Linked DNA regions of Homo sapiens: all the other regions are linked to region 2. Evidence: promoter capture Hi-C in 16 types of primary human blood cells and fetal thymus (Javierre and others, 2016). All regions are on one chromosome and are shown on one strand. Each heading gives the region's core, a stretch centred on a gene start or on the middle of the fragment in contact. The rest is flanking DNA. Distances are from core to core; before and after follow the strand shown.

Region 1 (2,700 bases), core at 36-2,535, 1.6 Mb after region 2:
GGCAGCGGGGAGGGAGAGAGCCGCGGAGAAGGGGTGAAAGCAGAGGAGGAGGGGGTATCCATGGAAATAAACCGGGTCTCAGGGAAATCAGGCTTCTGGAGAGTGAGTTTGTTTGTAATAATAATACGAATTATTCTCTCAGCCTGAGGTCACCGGGAGGTGTAGGCGGGAGAAATTGGGAGTTGGAAAGGGGAAGAATGGGGGAGGGGGTGGGAGAGGGCCGGATGAATTCGCTGAGCGGCGAGAGTGGAGTGGGTGCCTGGGTGGGGGTCAGGGGCGGTAGCCAGGCAGAAGCTGGAGGGAGAAGATGGATTAGGAGGCGCCTCTCTTCCCTCCCCGCGTCAAAGGTAAATAAAGAGCCGGCCCCGCCCCGCCGGCCCCCGCTGACAGGTGCAGGCGGGTCCCCGGCCGCCGAGGCAGGGCCGGCCCCACCCTCCCGGGCCGCGGGCTCCCGACCCCTCCCAGCGCCTCGAAGCCCCCATCTCCTCCCCGCGTCCCCCAGCCCCTTCCCTCCACCCGGCCCTGGCCCTGTCCCTCCGGGCGTGGAACCCGGGCTCATCCCGCCCCCGCCCCAGAGGGAAAACGCACGTGAACAAAGCGAATCGGAGGAGGCAGGAACGACAGTAAAAGGCAACGGAGAGGGAGAGAGAGATGGGGCAAAGCACCCGAGCCAGATGGAGGCGGCGGCGGGGGGTGGCGTGGGGGGCGTGCGAAAGAAACTCGGGGCTGGCGCGGAGGCCGAGGGTCCTTCGCGGGGGGCTGCTCCGGAGTGGGGGATGCGAGGAGGCGCTGGGGACGGCGGAGCAGAGGCGGATGGCCTGGAGGGGCAGGGATGAGGGGACCGAGCGTCGGGCCGAGAGGCAGAGGAGAGGAGGGCGATGGAGAGGATGGAGAGGACCGCGCCTGCGGGAGGGCGACGGGGAGAAGGAAGCGAGCCGAGCGGGATGGCAGCCCCGGAGGCGCAAGACGAGAGCGGGCAGGAAGGAGGGACAGAGGGACCGCGGGCGGACGGAAGGAAAGTGAAGGAGCTAGCAGGGCAAGGCGGGTGCGGAGCGGGGCGCCCGGAGGCGCGAGGAGAGGGATGGGGGAGGGGGTCGGAGGGCGGCCCGGGGGGCCCAGCCCTGCCCCCGCCCGGCCGCGGTACCCACCCACAGTCCGGGAGCCGATGCAGCCCATGGCTCCGGGGGCCGCAGAGCCGGGCCCTCACCGACTCGGGGCGCGCGCCGGGGGGAGCACCGGGAGCCGCGCCGCCGCCCCAGCCGCTCTGCAGCGCCGCGGCTGTCTCCGCTCGGCTCCGCTCCCCCCTCCCCTCTCCATCCCTCCCCACGGCAGCTCCGTCGCCGCCGCCGCCGCCGCCGCCGCCGCCGCCTGGCTCCCCCGCCCCGGCTCGGCTCGCCGCGGCCGGGGAGGGGGCGGCCCGGGGATTGGCTGCGCCCCGCGCCTCCCCGCCCCTGCTCCGGCCGTGCCGGGGCGCTCCCTCGGGGATCTGGGGCCGCCGTCGCCGCCCCCCTCCTCCCGCCCGTGCCAAGCCCCGCTCCCGGGGCTCTCTCCTGGAGAACCCCGGCTTGGGTTTCAGGAGCCGAGGCACGAACCCAGGGCCTACCCCGAGGTTCTGGTTGATGGATTTTGCGGGCCGGGGTCAGGGGATGCCCTGAGAGAAAGTGGGGTGGTGGTGAGAATAAAGCCAGGCCCAAGGGCCTTTGGCCACCAAATTCCGCAAACACTTGTTTTCCTCCTGGGGCCGCATCTGGGACACACACAGGAACGTGATTGGACACAGCTTTGGGCTCTGTTGTTTCGAGTGCGCTATTTTGTCCATCCAAACAGAAGGTGAAGTCTTTGCAAGTGAATCGTGTAGTCCACTTCTCTGTGCTCGCTGGACATTCAGGGGTGGGTGTGGGGATGTGCAGATAGTTGACCTCCAGGCCTGGTTGGGGATTGGAGAATATGAGGAGGACAGTTCATTCGCAGTAGACTAACAACAATGTCAGGACCCGAGGCTGGCTAGGAGACATCGTCTTGAATCCAGTTTAACTTTTCTGAGACGTGATCTTCTCGGACAAATGAAAGCAAGGCGGTCCCGAAGCAGCAAAGAGAGAGAAAGATTGGCCTCTGGCTAGTGGGACTGGGCCAGGTAGATACCTCAAGCCCCATGGGGAGGAGATGAAGGTCTAAGTTGCAAGGGTTAAATGAGCACTGTGGTTACAGCAGGTAAGAAGTGGAGTCCAGAAAAGATGCATGAGAAAGGGCAAGGAGACCCTTTTGTCTAAGGTGTACCCAGAAAGCCCAAAGTGTGAGAGAGTGGGCAGGTGGGCATTCACAGAAGCAAGTGCCCATCCAGGCTCTGACTGCACCTCGCCCACTTTTAGGTCTCTCCGAGGTTGCAGAGAGAGAAGGCAATGGGCCAGGGGTCCCTGGTGTGGGCTCCTAACAGGGAGGCTAAGTCTTATGGATGCAACTTTCTAACCTTTAGATTATGAATGGAGAGCTACATCCCATGGGGTGGCAGATGAAGATGTGCAAGAAGAAGACACTAACAACTGAATTGCAGATTGAGGAGATGAGATTATGGTGACAGAATCCATCTTCGGTGTATGTGCATGAAGAAATAAGCCAAATCTACATCTATAAAACCGCGGGAAGGAATGAGATAATAATCAGTTGCAGGTCTGCTTAGATTTTAATCGTTTAGTGTAGTTC
Region 2 (2,700 bases), core at 201-2,700:
TCTAGTGACATCATACCTGCTAAAACATCAGAATGCAATGTATTACTCATGTGTTACTTGATATTAATAATGACTATGTCACTGGTTTATGTATTTACTATACTTTTTATTATATTATTATTTAACTTATTTTTTAAAAGTTAACTGTAAAACAGCCTCAGGCAGGTCCTTCAGGAGGGATTCCAGAAGAAGACACTGTTATAGGAGATGACAGCTCCCTGTGTGTCACTGCTTCTGAAAACCTTCCAGTGGGACAAGATGTGGAAGTGGAAGGCTGAGATTGATCATAATGACCCTGTGTAGGCCTAGGCTAATGTGTGTGTTTATGTCTTAGTTTTTTTAAAAAATGGCTAAAAAGTTAAAAAAAAAAAGAAAAAAAGCAAAGGTAGAAAAAAGCTTGTAGAATAAGGATATAAGAAAAATATTTTTGTACAGTGGTACAGTGTGTGTTTTAAGCTAATTGTTATTACAAAACAGTTAAAACGTAAAAAAATTTGGAAGATTTATAAAGTTATAGTGAGTGAAAGTTTATTAAAGGAAGAAAAGTATTTTTTATAAACTGAGTGTAGCCTAAGTGTACAGTGTTTATGAAGTGTTTAGTGGGTACAATAATGTCCTAGACCTTCATGTTGGGCCACCACTCACTCATTTACTCACCCACAGCAACTTCCAGTTCCGCAAGCTCCATTCATGGTAAGCGCCCCATACAGGTGTGCCATTTTTATCTTTTATACCGCATTTGTACTGTACCTTTTCCATGTTTACATATGTTTAGACACACAGATACTTACCATGAATTACAATGGTCTGCGGTATTCAGTACAGCCCCATGCTGTCAGGTTTGCAGCCTGGAAGCAGCAGGCCACACCACAGAGCCGAGGTGTGTCCAGGCTCCACCATCTAGGTCGTCAAAGTACATTCTGTGGTGTTCGTACAGCAACAAAATCGCCTAATGACGCAATCCTCAGACCTTACCCTGTTGTTAAGGTACACATGACTCTTATTTTGTTCCTCCCGGATTTCCTGCATTAATTTTTACTTTTTAAAATATTACATTAATATATTATTTGATTGCCAGTTTTTCTGGTGCTCCCTTAAATTGCACAGCCTGCCAGCCCTTCCCTGGCTCCCCTTTCTTTTTCTGCTTTTCTTAGTGCTTCAACAGACCTGGGACGTTCTTTTTCTTTCTTTTTTTTTTTAATTTTCTTCTTTTTTTCTTTTTCTTGTTTTGTTTTGTTTTGTTTTGAGATAGAGTTCGCTCTGTTGCCCAGGCTGGAATGCAGTGGTGCGTTCACGGCTCAATGCAGCAACGACCTCCAGGGCTCAGGCGATCCCCCGACCTCAGCCTCCGGAGAAGCTTGGACCACAGGCGCGCGCCACCACGCCCAGCTAATTATATATTTTTTGTAGAGACAGGTCTCACTATGTCGCCTAGGCTGGTCACAAATGTTGCTTTTTTTTCCCTCCAGGCAGAGCTAGTCTCTGTTTTGCCTACCTCGCCCCCTCCTGGGCCCAGTTAGAAACCTCATCACATAATTTCATTTCTTTCCAAACTTGAAACCTTCTAAACTTGAAACCTTCTAAACTTGAAACCTTCCAAACTCACCACTTGGCGGCGTTGATCCATCCGCCCGCGCACAAAGAGAAGATCGCGGAACTTCAGAGTTAAGGGGAGCCGTTTCCCGCAGCGCTAGCCGGCAGTATTTCCAAGGCGCAAGTTGCGGAGTTTCTGTTTCCTTTTTCCTCTGGCGAGCTTTGCGTTCCCTGTGCGCCGGAAGTGATCCCCTGCGTGGCTGGGCTGCTCGGGTTAGATCGTCAGGTGAGGGAGGAAGGGATAGCCAGCGCGAAGGAAGTGCTGGAGTCGTGTGTTTTGGCTGCGCGTGATCCTGCGTGGGTCGGGAGGTGTTTCTGTGTAGGTGTCTGGCCCTTTCATCAGTCGTGCGGAGGACCGCGTGATTTCCTTCCAGTTCTCCTCGGTTTTCAGGTGGTGGCGCCATCTTCGGTAAAGGGTGTCCACCTCTCCCTATGGTGTGGCTGGCTAGCCCGGGGGTCTCTACGCTGCTTGGTCTTTGTTAACGGAGATGAAGGCAGTAATTTTTCAGTAACAGGTTTCAGATATAAGTCCCTTGGTGATGCTAATATTTATGGAGGCCTTACTATGCATTAAGAACTTTTTTAGAAGTTTAGAAAATGGCAGTGAATAAAGCAGATACAAATCTCTGCTCTAAGGGAGCTTGCATAGTAATGAAATTTGAGAAGACAGTGGATTGGAAGTGGGATTAACTCAGAATCAAAATTTTGTCGATGGGTTGGAGGAAGAGGAAGTTATTTGGGACCAAAAAGACATACAGGTGTGAGTTTATTTGGGAGGGAGGAAGGAATCCTCATCAGATGTGCAGGAATGTTGGTACGTTGTGGTCACAAAATTGGAGTGCATAAAAATTATGAATATAGTTAGGAATTTAGGACTGGTGAGTTGTACTTTTGCCATAAGAGGTAATGTTTTTTTCTTATTTTGTTTTTTTCCTTCAGGAAAAGCCTAAAGATTAGACTGTAAGAAAAGAAAATAGAAGCCATGTTTCGAAGACCTGTATTACAGGTAGTCACTTGTCTGTATTAATACTGAGATGTATTACTATCAGCCACAGTGATCAGAAGACTTCTTTAGGCTTTTAACTACAGGGGCAAAAGACCTTTGAG
Region 3 (2,700 bases), core at 152-2,651, 1.6 Mb before region 2:
CTTTGTTTAAATGCCTGTGAATCCCTCCCACGCCGGAGTCAAGAGGCTGTGGCGCCGCCCTTTATTAGCCTCACACTTTGATTACAAAACACACGAGTCGGCGGCCTGGCTGCGGAGGCGGCCCGAGCTCTCAAACGTCAAACCCGGAGCGCGGCGGCGGCTGAATCAGAGGGCAGCGTCCGCCGCCGCCGCCAGCCGGCCCCGCAGCGTCCGCCCGGCCGACTCAAGTTCGCCGGCACCGGCGCCCGGGCACAGCCGCAGGCGGTCCCGGTGTCGCCAGCTTCGAGCGATGGCAACTGCACTCTTTGTAAAGTTTAAGCCGCGGCGCGAGGGCAACGCAGGGGGTCCGGAGAAGCGTTCCCTTCGGGCCGCCGCAACCCACTCCATCTGCCCCAGTCCCGGCGACCCGGGTGTGTGCGGGGGCCCAGGACCGCGACCCGGGTCAACCTGCCGCCCGCCGGGGGCCCGGCCCCAACTTCCCCGGCACCTTTCAAGTCCCCGAGAGCGAGTGCCTCATCTGTTGCTCTGTTTACTCCGCGGAGCCCCGCCGAGCTGGCTGGCGCGGTCGCCTCTCCGGCCCGCCGCTGCCCCCGTCCCACTGGCCCAGGAAGTTTGATAAAGACGGGGAAGGGGGCGCGACAGGGACCCGCGGCGCGGAGGAGACGCGGGGCCGGGGCGACCCCATCGCCGCCCGGAAGGAAGGCAGGCGCGTCGGCCGGCCGGGCAGAGCGGCGGGGCGGCCGGCGACTCCGGCCGGAGCCCCGGGCGCGGCGGGGCGGGGCGGGGCGGCGGCGGCCCGGGCTGGCGAGGGGCTGCGGACCCGGCCGGCGCTCCGCCCGACGCCCCCGCCGCGCCCGCCCGGCCGCGTCCCCTCGCCCCAGGCTCCCCCTGCCAACTTATCCGCCGGCCCTCTTTGTTCGTGTTTGTTGTGGCGACTCTTCGCCCGGGCCAGGCGAGCCCACCGGCTCCCCTCTGGAGCCCGCCCGGCGAACCCGGGGCACCGCGCGCCCCACTGCCCGGCCGGGGGGCTAGGCACCGGGGCCCCCTGAAAGCTGGGCGCGGCGCGGCGGCCCGGCCCGAGGGAGGCGCGGGCGGCCGGCGGCGGCGGCGGTTGGTCGGTGGCCGGCGGTGGCGGCTGCGGGGCTGGAGGGGGTTTATTTACCTGCCGTGGAACCAGTCCTTGCAGATATCGCACTCGATCATGAAGCGGTTCACGTCGTACGGCTGCCGGCACACACAGTACACGGGCGGGGGCGGCGGAGGCGCCGAGGCCCGGCCGGGAGCCGCCACCGACACGGCTGCCGCGGCGGCTCCAGCTGCTGCTCCCGCGGCCACCGCCGCCGCCGCTCCGGCCATCTTTAAAAAACACACACACGCTCGCTCGCTACTCCGCTCGCCGACTGGAGCGAGCGCAGCCGCCAGCCAGCGCCGCCTCCTGCAGCAGCCGCGGCGGCGGCGGCGCCTCAGTGCGCGCGCGCGAGGCCGCGGCGGCTGGCGGAGGGGGAGGAGGCGCGCGCGACGCGCGAGGCCCAGACTCGGCTGCTTCCGGCGCTCGGCGCGGGGCCGTGCGTCTCGCGCACGTCTCTGGCGCCGGCGCGCGCTCCCCGCTCCTCTCCGCGACGGCCGGGCGGAGGGAGCTGTTGAAGGGCACGCAGGCGGCTGCGGGGGCGGAGGGAGCTGAGGCCCCGTGAGGACACGCGCGGTGGTGGCGGTGGCGGCGGGCGCGCGGCCGCAGCCGGAGGAGGACGGCGGGAGCGTGCGAGGAGCTGGCTCGGTTATTTCGGAGCGAGAGCCGAGGCCGGGGGAAGTTCCTGCGGAGTGCTCAAGGGCAGAAGAGGTGCCGCGTCCCGAAGAGGGGAAGCGGAGAAGTTTGCTGCTGCCCGGGTCGCCTCGCGACGCTGAGAGAATCGCCCAGCCCTCCGCAGCCGCCCAGCGAGAACCGGAGCTGCGGCCCCGCACCGGCGTGAGTCCAGCTGAGCTGACACGCCGAGCCGGTTGTGCCTTTCCGAGGGAGGAATGTGCCGTGGAATCCAAACTTTGGAAAACGTCCCACCCGAATTCCCAGCGAGCAGCAAGGAGACCAGAGCGTCGATGGAGCCACCGTTAGTTGCGGGAGGGCTGTCCCCAAGAGGAATTCATCACTGTCGTCCGCTGGGAGGGACCAACCTTGAAATGGGGTTGGTGGAGAGAGGGATAGAGAAGAGCCGGCGTGCTTATAAATAACAAAACTTAGCTATGAACCCTTCCGATTCCCAAGTGGGGAAGATGGGGTAAAATTCTAAGTGACTTCTCGCTCCGAAGAGGGATACCACAAAAAGCGGAGCGCAGGGTACTTGGCGTATAATAAGCCATCAATAATTTATGGGTGAAATTGAGAGCCAAATATAAGATGATAAACTGAAGAATAAAAACAGCTGACAAATACTGTATAGAAAAGATTGCGTTGGAATCATAACTGTGGATTGGAAGTGATGTTAAGGATTATTGGATTGAGTATTTGTAGCTGAATTTCTGCTGGCATTTCTATCAGTGGGGAAAGCCCTCACAGCTCCATAGGTAATTTTTGTTAGGGGAGGAAGAAGTGTTGTTCTGTCACCCACCCCCAGGCAAAGAGTCGCTGATCTAATTCTCCATTTCTTTCTTTCTTTCCTTTCTTTCCTTCCTTCCTTCCTTCCTTCCTTCCTTCCTTCCTTCCTTCCT
Region 4 (2,700 bases), core at 96-2,595, 1.0 Mb before region 2:
CTAACTCCTTGGTAACTTTTATTACAAGGTAAAACAAAACTGATGAAAGTGGCTGACATACCGGGGACGTGAGCAGAACGGCTTGGCCACTTCCTTAACATGGCCCCGGGTTCACCCGCTAGTCCGGAACTACAGTTTCTCTGCCACAGTGTCTGCGCCTGTCCACTTGCAGGCATTAATTTTGGTGAATATGAAGAGAGTTAATATAACCAGTGTGTCCTCTTCTCCATGGCAGCGCCCAGGGACAGACCTGCAGTGACCACCACCTGCCCCTCTCTGCCAGGCCCAACCACGGGCTTTCTTCTCAGAGCTGAGCTGATGTGGCCGTCTGGCTGACTAGGAGGGGCCCGGGGTCAGCCTGGAGGGGGGGTATTTGTAAAGCTTAATTTCTCTTTTTTTTTTTTTTTAGGTAAAATCACAGTTTATCCCTGCACCTTCATAGATTATGTTGCTCGTCTTAGAGACCACCAGGCAGCGAATGGAGTCAAGCCCTTGCGCTCTCCGAGAGTCCTGCCCTGACTACAGGACTAGTTTCTCCCATTCTTTCCTTCTCCAGGATAAAGTTCCTCATTCCTGTCTTTTAGTGAGCAGTATGGTTTAGGTGGACAGAGATTCCTTTGGTGCAGTTTTTTTCAAGGAGGTGATGTTATTTTTTCCTTCCCAGGTCTTGAGGGGACATTCAAAGCAGGCAGAGAGGGGTTGGGATGGCTCCAGATGGCTGGGAGGGAGAACACCAGCTGGTCACGCAGCCCCTCGTGCCAGTGCGCATCAGGTACAGTGTGGAGGCGGGAAAGGGACAAAAAGACGGCAGTCTCTTCCCTGAGCCTATGCCAACCCAGCCTTAAAGCCAGTGGATCGAATCAAGCCATTTGTGGCATTATCTATTGCTGCGTACGAACTTAGCCTGGCACAATGCCTGTAATCCCAGCTACTCGGGAAGTTGAGGCAGGAGAATCGCTTGAGCCTGGGAGGCAGAGGTTGCAGTGAGCCGAGATGGTGTCACTGCACTCCAGCCTGGGTGACAGAGCAAGGCCTTGTCTCAAAAAGAAAAAAAAAAAAAAAAAAGAATTATACACCACTCAGTTTTAGGAGGGGCAGAACACGGGGAGAGCCCTACAGGATCAGAGGGGCAACCAACAAGCTGTTTCAGAAGGCATGGGGCAGCTCAGCAACCATAAGTTATGCGTGGGCTTTGCTCTCGGGAGAGAGGTTTCCTGCAGCCGAAGGACTCACAGCTAATCTGGGTCAGGAGCGGCTGCCGGCTCCCCCACTCCTGGAGATGAGCGACTCTGTGACGTCACGGGAGGCGCGGGCGGAGCGCCGGGGAAGCGAAGTAGGCAGGGGCGAGGCGGCTGGGGACCGCGGGGCGGACGGGAGCGAGTATGTCCGCTCTGACTCGGCTGGCGTCTTTCGCTCGCGTTGGAGGCCGCCTTTTCAGAAGCGGCTGCGCACGGACTGCTGGAGATGGTGGAGTCCGTCAGTGAGTGTGGGGCTGGGGATGGGGGCCTCGCCGGCCTGTAGCGGACAGCGCGGGTCCCTGGGACGCTCTCACCTTGACTGGGGCGCCTGAAGAGGCCGCGTCCCGAGGCATGCTGGGACCTGTAGTCCGCGTGTCTCCTGAAGCCGCGACTCGAGGAGAGGGACCCCGCTGGCCGGAGGGAGAGGGAGAGACTTCGCTGGGCAGATGGGACACCGTGTGCAGGGCCGTCATGGTAGTAGGGGCCGCCTGCCCTCGGGAGACGCACGCGTGAATGCGGAGCGGGCTGAGCCAGTCGGCGCCGGCGCGGGCGGTCCAGGCGGAGGAAGCAGCGTGCGCGGCGGGTGTGGACGCTCCTGGAGCGAGGCGGGGGGCGGCGGCGGTGAGGCCTAGGGAGGGCGCGGTCCAGGGTCCCGGTGCCTGGCTGCGGAATTTAGGGTAGAGTCTGTTCGGCAGCCTTTAATCGGAGACGTCACGTGGCCGCTTTTTAATGCTGAAAAATCACTCTGGCTGCAGGGAGTGGAGGCTGTCGCCCAGAGAGAGCGCCGTCGGGTGAGAGGAGCAGAAAGCCGGAAGCCAACGCTGGGGCAGCCGTGGCGTTTAGGAGAGTGACAGGCAGAGCCGCCCGCGAGGTGGCCCGAGACGCAGACCGGAGGGCGGAGGGCTGGGGGTGCGAGGTAGGGAGCGGGTGCGAGGTAGGGAGCAGCTGCCGAAGCCGAGTTAGTGGTGTGCAGAGATTCCGTAAGAGCAGGACTGGAAAAGAGTCATGGATGATTCCAGGTCCCTTAGATCATCAGCTACACTTTACCAAGAGGCAGTGTGGGGTCGTGATTCCAAGCGGGATTCTGGCCGCACAGTGGCTGGGTTCAAATCCCACCTCTGCCACACTCCAGCTGTGGGACCTTGGAAAAGTTTCTTATTCTCTTAATGCCTCAGTTTCCTCACCCATTTGGCGTCCATTTGCAAGGAACTAAATGAGTTACTGTTATCTAAAGCGTGTTTGTGTGTTTTAGGAGATGGGGTCTAACTCTGTCAGGCAGGCTGGAGTGCAGTGGCGCGATCCTAGCTCACTGCAGCCTCTAACTCCTGGGCTCAAGTGATTCTCCAGCCTCGGCCTCCCAAAGTGTTGGGAATACAGGCGAGCCACTGCGCTTGGTCTCACTAAAGTGTTTAAAACAATTGCTGGTGCCTGCTAAGGACCGTACAAGTATTCTTTAACTGTT

The links. Contacts are between HindIII fragments. The CHiCAGO score rates a contact against its expected background, and 5 or more counts as called.
Region 1: the fragment with the promoter of FAM131B here is called in contact with the fragment with the promoter of WEE2-AS1 in region 2 in 2 of 17 cell types (fetal thymus and activated CD4 T cells); the score reaches 9.2 in fetal thymus.
Region 3: the fragment with the promoter of KDM7A here is called in contact with the fragment with the promoter of WEE2-AS1 in region 2 in 1 of 17 cell types (activated CD4 T cells); the score reaches 6.3 in activated CD4 T cells.
Region 4: a contact is called between the fragment with the promoter of NDUFB2 here and the fragment with the promoter of WEE2-AS1 in region 2, in 16 of 17 cell types (naive CD8 T cells, total CD4 T cells, non-activated CD4 T cells and 13 more). The highest score is 24.2, in naive CD8 T cells.

What each region holds. Positions count from the first base shown.
Region 1 is chr7:143,361,428-143,364,127 of GRCh38, forward strand. FAM131B (family with sequence similarity 131 member B) reads right to left here and starts at 1,286. Exons shown (of 7, transcript NM_001031690.3): 1 at 1,149-1,286. The coding sequence starts at 1,176. It overlaps FAM131B-AS1 (FAM131B antisense RNA 1), which reads left to right and starts at 279. Exons shown (of 3, transcript NR_183342.1): 1 at 279-630; 2 at 1,763-1,830; 3 at 2,474-2,700. The HindIII fragment of the contact is 5,612 bases long and covers 1-2,700 here.
Region 2 is chr7:141,736,592-141,739,291 of GRCh38, forward strand. WEE2-AS1 (WEE2 antisense RNA 1) reads right to left here and starts at 1,451. Exons shown (of 4, transcript NR_199841.1): 1 at 792-1,451. SSBP1 (single stranded DNA binding protein 1) reads left to right here and starts at 1,767. Exons shown (of 7, transcript NM_003143.3): 1 at 1,767-1,819; 2 at 2,533-2,599. The coding sequence starts at 2,576. RefSeq lists an enhancer at 784-1,669. The HindIII fragment of the contact is 7,644 bases long and covers 1,356-2,700 here.
Region 3 is chr7:140,175,582-140,178,281 of GRCh38, forward strand. It overlaps KDM7A (lysine demethylase 7A), which reads right to left and starts at 1,402. Exons shown (of 20, transcript NM_030647.2): 1 at 1,163-1,402. The coding sequence starts at 1,356. It overlaps KDM7A-DT (KDM7A divergent transcript), which reads left to right and starts at 1,680. Exons shown (of 1, transcript NR_024451.1): 1 at 1,680-2,700. RefSeq lists silencers at 131-410, 421-600, 1,241-1,340, 1,381-1,810 and an enhancer at 1,035-1,958. The HindIII fragment of the contact is 8,961 bases long and covers 1-2,700 here.
Region 4 is chr7:140,695,363-140,698,062 of GRCh38, forward strand. NDUFB2 (NADH:ubiquinone oxidoreductase subunit B2) reads left to right here and starts at 1,346. Exons shown (of 4, transcript NM_004546.3): 1 at 1,346-1,480. The coding sequence starts at 1,383. It overlaps NDUFB2-AS1 (NDUFB2 antisense RNA 1), which reads right to left and starts at 1,715. Exons shown (of 2, transcript NR_024454.1): 1 at 1,553-1,715; 2 at 1-1,458. RefSeq lists an enhancer at 1,355-1,664. The HindIII fragment of the contact is 6,958 bases long and covers 380-2,700 here.